2 separate regions of the Homo sapiens genome follow, and region 1 is linked to region 2. Evidence: promoter capture Hi-C in human tissues and cell types (Jung and others, 2019). All regions are on one chromosome and are shown on one strand. The core of a region is centred on a gene start or on the middle of the fragment in contact, and the rest is flanking DNA. Distances in the headings are between cores, read along the strand shown.

Region 1 (4,476 bases), core at 35-2,534, 75 kb before region 2:
ATAGTTGAGCCAGCCAAAACCCCAATAATCACCCTTGAGACTTCCCCTTTCATAAAATCTATCAGTAAATCCTGGAGATCTTAGTTGCTACATACCTCTGGGATCTGGTCGTTTCTCTTTAATTCTGCTGCCACCACCTCCCGCCCCCAACTGCCTATTCCAAACTATAATAATCACTCACCTGGACTCACAGTCCCCTCTTGACACTAACTCCAGTCTTACTCCCTTCTCTCCACATAGCAGCAAGAGTGATCTTTTAGAAGTACAAATATAATCACAACCTTTTTAAGCTTGCAGAGTTGCACCCACATCTTTAGCATGTCTTTCAGGGACCTTCCCTGTCTCCAGCCTCATCTCACACCCTTCCCCCCATGGACTTCCCTGTAATACACCACCCTTCTTTCAGCTCTTCCTACCCCCCCCACTCCTTCCTGACTCAGACTTTAGCCCATAAGCCCTGACAGGGATCTGCTCAGTCCCCCTTGTTCTCTTCCCTCACTGCCTGCCCACTCGTCCAACAGAGTTCACCATGAACTGGACCCTCTCCTGACCATGGAGAAGAACTGGGTCAACCTCCCAGCTGGACTTTTCTTCTCCTTTTTAGCCCTTGTCACAATTGTAATTAAGTACTGAGGGCATGACTGGTTGCTTAGGGACAGTCTCCTTGGTTGATGTGGAAGCTCCACAGGACAGAGGCCATGCCCAACTTTAACACACAGTAGACTGTCCATAAATAGTTGATGAAATCTGAATAACTAAAAATAATATTGCTAGTCTAAAATCACTCCCATATTGCTTTGATTTGTAAGTTCAACCTTGTTTAAATAAAAAGAAAAACAATGTGAAAAAAAATAGTTGATGAAAGAATACCTAAGGTGTGGTTAGAAATATGAGTAGAAAGTCCAGGAAAGAGGGCAGGAGACACACACTTGGAAGTCATAACCATAAAGGGTTTGGGGGAAGGCGAGACTCTCTTGAGGAAGCACACAGAAGATGGTCATGAGGATAGAGGCTTGGCAGGACATGCTTATTTCTGAGGAGCAGGAGGGGCAGGAAAGAAGACAGAGAAGAGTCAAGAGCTGAGAAGATGACATGTATCACAAAAGAAAGAGAATTGTAAGAAGGAAAGGTAGTTCACAGTGTTGAAATCTGCAGCAAAGTTAAAAAGATGAAGCCTGAGAGGTGTCCTCGATGACAGCACTCATGGGGAGGTGGGCCTGAAGCCACAGGAAGGGGCTGAGATGGAAATGGGAAGAAAGGCCTCCACCATGAAATCTTCCTGAACACTCCAGCTGTCAGTGGCCAACTCTCCTCTGAGCATCTAGAAAACAAATTCTTCCTTTTCTATGGCATATGGAAATACATAAACTTATACAGTGTAATATTATAAGGTCAGTATTATTCAAATTCCCATTTCACTAAAGGGAAAATCAAGGCTTAGTGTGGTTAAATAATCTGTCCAAGCCATACAGTGAGATGCATCCTGGGTCTAAAGTCCTTGTTCTCAATCCCGACCTTTAGGGCTTTATAACATAAGTCTGCCTTCATGTGTCTATGCCTTCCTCTCAAATTAGAGTGTGATTCCTTACAGGGGAGGGATCTTTTCTTCTTCATAGCTTCATGCCGTACAGCCCCAGCACAGTGACTTACATACAGTAGGTGCTCAGTCAAAGCTTACACACTGGGCAACCCTGTCAAACATGGTGGATCCAACACGATGACCTAATCCACTCATCCCAGCACTAGTCCTCCTTGAAAGAGGAGACACGTGTACTGGCTAACCTTTCCTTCCCAGCTATCCCCCATCCACTCAAGCCTGCTTTCCTGAAAAGAAAGGCATTGAAGTGATGTTCCTAATGTTCATCTCCTGCTACATAGCCTCAAAGATACTATTCCCAAATATGTTAAGTAGGAAGATGTAGGAGAACATATTGGCCTTTTCCCAGGACATGGAAACAACCCAAATTGCAATTCACCTAAGTCGTGTTTGTGTTTCTGAGTGTCTTAAACATACAGCTGCTGAGATACACCCTCTCCTTTGTTCTTGGTGGCACAATTATTAGAGTTTCCTCACTGTGTGTGTTTTAAAACATGGCCTCAAAATTCTTTGACAATGCTGTCTTCAAGAAGTGAAGTCTATATTCCCTCCCTTTGAATCTATGCTCTGAGACTATGTAAACAAGATAATTAATATCATGTTTGTTTCTGGACACAGACCATAAGAACACAGTAGCTTCCATTATCTCTGTCTTGGTATGCTTGCTCTTGGAATCCACCTACCATTCTGTGAGGAAGCCCAAGCAGCCTATGGAGAGGCCCATGGGAGAGAAACTGAGGCCCTCAGCCCACAGCCCTGGCTGAGCTCCTGACCTACAACCATCCCCAACCTGCCAGCCATGTGAGTGAGTTATCTTGGAAGCAGCTCCTCCAGCCTCCAGCCAAGCCTCACAGCTGACACTGCATGAAGCAGAACCACTGCCCCTCAGTCCTTCCTAAACGCCTGACCCACAGAAACCACAAGGGAGAAAAAATGACTGTTGTTTTAAGCCACTACACTGTAGGACGAGTTGTTATGCAGCAATAAATAACCAGAACAGCCATGTAATCATTGAATAAGTGTGGAAGTAGCAAGATGACCGGGGACCACTTATCCACCTGCTCCTCCACACCTTTGAGATTTCCCTCACCCAGTAAGCAGTAAGAGGGGCCTCTTCCCATAGCCATCATAAGAACCCCATCCTCCTAGATTGTGTTAGATCAGCAAAGAGGATGAGTAAACCTCACCAAATTAGCATTCAAAATCTCAAACACAGCTGATAAGAAAGTCCCCAGCCACCATCGTTACCGTATAAATGTATCTGTAGAATGAATGCTCGGCTGTGTGGTGCCTTGAGATATGGTTATCCTCTTGTGGCCTCTGAGAAGAAAGCTGATCCGTGTGGGTAGGTGGCATTCTACCTGAAGGAAGAGGCAAATGCCAGTGTCATTCCCTGGGGGAAGTAGAAACTGGGACCTGGAACATGAGCTCCATGCTTCTACAGGGCTAACCCACATCCATGACACTTCAGTTTCCTTCATTCCCTTTCCTTGCCCATGGCCACCATCCCTAATACATTTTGGTTTGATTTCCCATTGAGACCCTACTTGGCCTCATTACATCACCAATCAGTTGGAGTCAGCAGAAGAAATGAAGCACATTTGCCATCCTGGGTTGGAAAATGAGGAGACATGAAGCTTCAGCTCTCAGAGGCAGGGACGAGGGGGCAGCATGGTAAGACAGCACACTGAGGATGTGGTTAAAAACTCGGCTCAGGAGTGGAGGTGCCAGCGTTCATCGTCTCACCCCATTATTACCAGCTTGGGATGTCTCAGGGCCTGCATATCCTCACCTGTGGAATGGAGATAATAACAGTTCCCTCCCTCACAGGGTGTTGAGTAATAAATGAGATTTTTCCAAGCAACACGTTTATAACAGCAGCCTGGCACACTGCGAGGACTCAATATATGTAAACTGCTGCTGCTGTGATGATGATGATGAAGATGACAACATTGTGAGGGGCGGGATCAGGAGCTTGGAAGGCGGGGGGCGGCGGGGAGGGATGCTTCAGGTCACAGCTCTTCATCCAGGGATCCTGTGTGGATGGAACAGAACTTTGATCCCACAGAGGGAGCTCTGCATTGCAAGCCAGGCTGTCCAGAAGGTCACCTGTCCCAACATGAGCCATGTGTTGAGCGGGGAGCAGTGAAAATCTGAAAGGGGACAGGGACTTCCTCGGGCAGACTCAGGAGAGAGTGGGCAGCTGCCCCTTCTCCCGTGGCCCACCTGGTGCCAAGCTTGGATGTGGCAGCCCTTCCCACATCTCCATGCCCACCTGCTCCTGTCTGCAGGCAGTGGTCTGGGTTTCAAGTCCAGCAAGTCATATTTGGGGGAAATCTACTGTCCGTCAGGTACTGTGCTAAGTTCAGCCAGCTCCTGGCAGAATCCAGAGGAAAGGTTTTACAGTCAGCCAAGGACAACTTGGAAGATGTCAAGGAGCTAAACAACTTTCCTCTGTAGGGACCAGGGCCTAATAAGAGCCCCAAAGCAGCCCCAGAGGAAAGGAGACAGTGACAAACTTCATTCAGATATAAGAGATGTTTCCTGATGTTTCCTAAAGCAGTGACAAAGGGACTTTGTTATGTTGCTTTGAAGAAAGAAATAAAATTGATACTCTCTCTCTCTCTCCATATACATCTCTCAATTCCATCAGAGTTTATATGAAAACTACCTAGAGTTTTAGTTTATTCCAAGCTAAAGAAAAATGAGGCAACAATGTAAAACAGCCACTAAAACAGTAAACTTAAATTTGAGATGCATTAATAGAATTACATTTTTCAGACAAAAAATGATTAAACAAGTCCATCTAGCTTCCTATCAGAGCTAGGAAACCACTGTAAAGAAACAGAGAACAAGCAGGGATTAGCTCATGAAGATCA
Region 2 (4,091 bases), core at 41-2,540:
GAAGAGGGAGGTGTTCACACCAGGCCTCTTGGATTCCTTTAAAAATTGAGAATTCAAATGAAATACAAATGATGTTTGACTCCCCACCTCTCTTGCTAGTCTCCGGGGGCATTGATAATAAAAACAGTTTAACGCAGCCCCACGGGCTCCTCAATCCATGGGAAGTGAGCAGGGTCCTCGGGTCCTTGGGTATTTCTCCCCAGATCTTAGGTAGGGTGGTGGTTATTTCTCTTTTCTGAAATTCTAAGCTACTGCTCTAATCCTGTCTCCTTTTGGTTGGGGAGACTCAGCTCTTAGAAGATGCAGTTCTACCCTCATCCCTTCTGAATCGTCAGGCCTGGGGGAGCACAGCCCTGAGGTCCGAGCTGCAGACAGTCTCTCCAGTGGGTCCCCAGACACTTGGGTCATCTGCCCACTGAAACGCATTCACTCCAAGCTGCTGCCAGAGGAAACACCAGCCCTTCTGCTCATCCTCCACCTGTTCCAAAGGCTGCCCCTGCAGGACACTGTTCAGTCCTGAGCTGCCCATGGGAGTCTCCCTGTCTGCTCTGGCCCTGTCTCTACTTCTGAAACACACCTCAAATACATAGAAAGACCCAGGGTTGGCTTGGCCCGACCTCCACAGTCAGATGAGGACACTAATGATTGGCGCAAGGAACCATAGCTAATTAATGATAGTGTCCAGGTCCAAGCTCCCCAGCACCCCATTCCCAGCTTAGATCTGCTTCCACACAACACTCCCAATAGCTCCTTTCACTGTGAGAAACAAGAGATCTCTAAGGGAGGTGTTTTTTGCTGAGGCAACATTTTGTCCAGCTCCTAGCGGAGACCTAAGTAAAACTGCAGCCTAAGGCCTGCCTGTCTGCCCGCCCAGGCCCTCATCCCAGGCTGATGTCCAGAGTCCAGGCCCAAAAGTGTTTGGGGGGGATGCCCACACGGCCTCACCCCTCTAGGGGCAAGTGCCTCTAGGCTGGATATCAGGACCACGGGTGCTGCTCTGAGCAAGAGACTCACCTGGATGGGTAGACAAAGGGATCCTGCCCTAGAGAGGAAGCTGCTTCATCCTCTCCTGAGCTGCCTGGGACTGGGCTCTGGGTGAATGGGGGGAGGGGGTTCCCGGGCTCCGAGGGGTTAACCCGCACGGGGCCACACGTGACGTGGATGGTTCCAGCATTAAGTCAGAGGCGCGGCCCCCTCCCCTGCCCCCCGCCCCCCGCCCCCCGCGGCGCGCGCCGCTCCCGGGGGCTCCGCGCCCCCGCGCCCAGGTCCCTCCCCCTTGGCGGGCGCTCACAGGCGGCGCGGGCAGCGCGAGCCCCGGAGCCCCGGAGGCCTGTGCGCCCTGAGCCGGCATGGACCCCGAGCACTGCGCGCCTTTCCGCGTGGGGCCTGCACCCGGCCCCTATGTGGCCTCGGGGGACGAGCCTCCGGGCCCGCAGGGAACCCCCGCCGCTGCGCCTCACCTGCACCCCGCGCCGCCCCGCGGCCCGCGGCTGACCCGCTTTCCGGCCTGCGGGCCCCTGGAGCCCTACCTCCCAGAGCCGGCCAAGCCGCCCGCCAAGTACCTGCAGGACCTCGGGCCCGGCCCGGCCCTCAACGGCGGCCACTTCTACGAGGGCCCCGCGGAAGGTAACGCGCGGCGCGGGGCGTAGCGCGCAGCCCGACCCTCTCTTCTTCTTCCTTACCCGGGCCCACCCGGGCCTTCCTGCTTATCTCTCCCGCTCGCCTATTTCTCAACTTTTTGCCCCTCTCGCCTTTCGCCACGGCTTCCACGGAAGCCGGGTTGGCGCTGGCCCGGGCCAGGCAAAGGCCAGTGTGGGGCGGGAGGGTGAACCACCGTTCCTCGGCGGCGGGAATGGAAGGCGGGAGGTCGAGGGAAGGTGCAGTGGCGACGGCCCGGAGTCCAGTCGGGGCCCGAAAGCAGTTGGACCTGGGAAGGAGAGAGCATGCTCTGCCGAAGTTGGACTGGAACTGCCACCTACCCTGAAGCCCAGACCCGGCCGAGGGCTGTGGAGCCACACTGAGACCTGACGAAGAAGCGCGGCTTTTGTGTCTGGCGCCCTTTGAGGGCCCTGAGGCTGGGCCTCAACCTAGAGTGGTCAAATCGGGGTCGGCTGGGGACTGCGGCCTGGTCTTGGCCCGTCTCTCCTCCCCGGGCCTAGCCTTCACAGGAAGGGTGCTGCCTGTGCGGCAGACTGGCACAGTCTGGCCGCGACTGGTCGTGCAATGCCAGGGCTGTCCTCAAGACGGAATAACTGTATTCTTATTTCTCATACTAAGCTGGCCTCCCTGCCGTTATGCACTATGATAGCCGCCCTTCTGGCAGTCTTGGCTTCCCCGCGCTGGATCATCACCGCTGGGCAGTCAGGAGCAGCCCTGGGCAGCCTAACCCCCTGGCGCCGCGGGCTCACGGGCCGGTGCCCTGTGCTAAGGCCGGCTGGACCGCGCCGGCATCCGAGAATGCGCCTGAAGGCAGGGGCCTGGCAGGCTGATCGGCAGCTCTGCGGCCGTCCGCCGCACCCTATGACCTGTAAGGCGTCTCGGCTTCCGCACTGCACCCACCTTATCTGCGCTGCCATATCCCGCAGCCTAGGCCCAGAACTGGATCCTCCAAGATCCGCCTCAACCCCCTGCCGCCGCCCGGCTGGCGCCTCGCGGGCCTCCACGGAGTGGCCGGGCATCTCCGGCTTTCGCCCAGCCGGGGCGGTGGGAATGTGTAGGGGAGGGCGGGGAGGTGTGTGTGGGTCAACGGAGGAAATGAACGAGTCCGCGGAGCTTCGTGTCTGTGCCCTTTGAAAGAGGCTTTCCTGATAAAAACCACAGTTGGGACTTAATGAGAAGCAGTTGGCCTGGCTCCTCTGATCCCAGCCAGACGGCAGAGGCCGCGCAGTGCGGTGAGCACCGCCAGAGACAGGTACCCGGCCTGGCTCAGCGCTCCGCGTCGGGCAGGAGCCACCCCCCCAGGCCCGCGTCCCTGCTAGGCGCGCCGCATCCGGCACCGACAGCTCGGGCCCCCGGACCACACCGGTGCCGCGCGAACTGCAGAGAGCGCTGGTGCGGAACGAGCGGCCGGGAGAAACCCAGCACCCCGGGATCCGACGGCAAGGGTGGCCTTGACAACGAAATACCGAGAAAGAAAACCAAAGAAAGCGAGCGACAACCAAGAAAAGGGGAAGGGAAATTGAACAAAACAACGGAGAGCGCGGCGAGAACGAGAGGGTAAATGGCAGTCGGCGAGCTGGGATGAACTAAAATGAATAAATGAGGAACGAACGAATAAAAAAAGCAGGAGCAAGATCGAACGAAACGGATAACTAGAGAAGGGGGAAAGGACAAAGAGGGAGGGAGCAGACTAAACAAAAGAAAACGGAGCATGTTTAAAGCGTAGAATATATCAAAATGAGAACAAGGGGGTAAGAAAATTAACGATTTCAGTTGAACGGAGGACAGGCCAAACGAAAGGGAGGCAGGCGGGTGCGAGCAGAGCCTGGTAGAGATCCTGGCGGCCGCTAGCCTCTGGCGCTCTTGCCGGTGTTCAACGGGCTGCCAGCGTCCCTGCGGCAGAGCGGACCTCGGCGCAGCGCGGCGCGCGGTGGAGCCTGGCTGCTTGAGGACAGTCAGCCCCCAGGGCCGCACAGCCTACTTGGTGGGAAGTGGCGGGCGAAGAGGGAACCCGCCTTATTTCCCGGTTTTTAAAATAACCGGCTCGGAGCGTTTCCAGTCCACACGAGTGAGCGCGCAGCTGCGCCCCATCTGCGGCGCGATCTTTCACGAGGCTGGGCAGTTGCGCGCCCCAGAGCCTGGCGCACCTCGCTCTTCTCCCGCCTGCAGTCCGCCGCCCGCGCAGCCCCAGGCCGCCCTTTGCTGAGAGCGCCCAGCCTTGCTCTGAACCCAGGCTGCGTGCTGGCGCTGCCAGCCACTCTCGCGCCGTCCGCGCTTGGCTAGTCTGTCCCGAGTTTGGCTCTGACGTCGAAACACGCCCTCGGCAAGAGACTCCTACTAGAGTTTTGCCCGCTGCCGCTGAGGCCCTGAGCCGGATGACCCGGCCGATCGCCAAAGTCGAGGAGAGTCCCAAGTTCTTAGACCCGGGCTGA

The links. The method cuts DNA at HindIII sites, captures the fragments that hold promoters and counts their contacts. A contact is called where the count stands out against the background at its distance.
Region 1: a contact is called between a fragment that was not itself captured here and the fragment with the promoter of ALX3 in region 2, in 2 of the 25 tissues and cell types used here (mesendoderm cells and thymus).

Annotation. Positions count from the first base shown.
Region 1 is chr1:110,142,568-110,147,043 of GRCh38, reverse strand. No RefSeq gene overlaps it. Among named protein-coding and RNA genes, the nearest start is that of SLC6A17, 5.7 kb to the left of the region's middle. The HindIII fragment of the contact is 4,500 bases long and covers 1-3,534 here.
Region 2 is chr1:110,067,871-110,071,961 of GRCh38, reverse strand. ALX3 (ALX homeobox 3) reads left to right here and starts at 1,290. Exons shown (of 4, transcript NM_006492.3): 1 at 1,290-1,626. The coding sequence starts at 1,350. The HindIII fragment of the contact is 7,804 bases long and covers 1-4,091 here.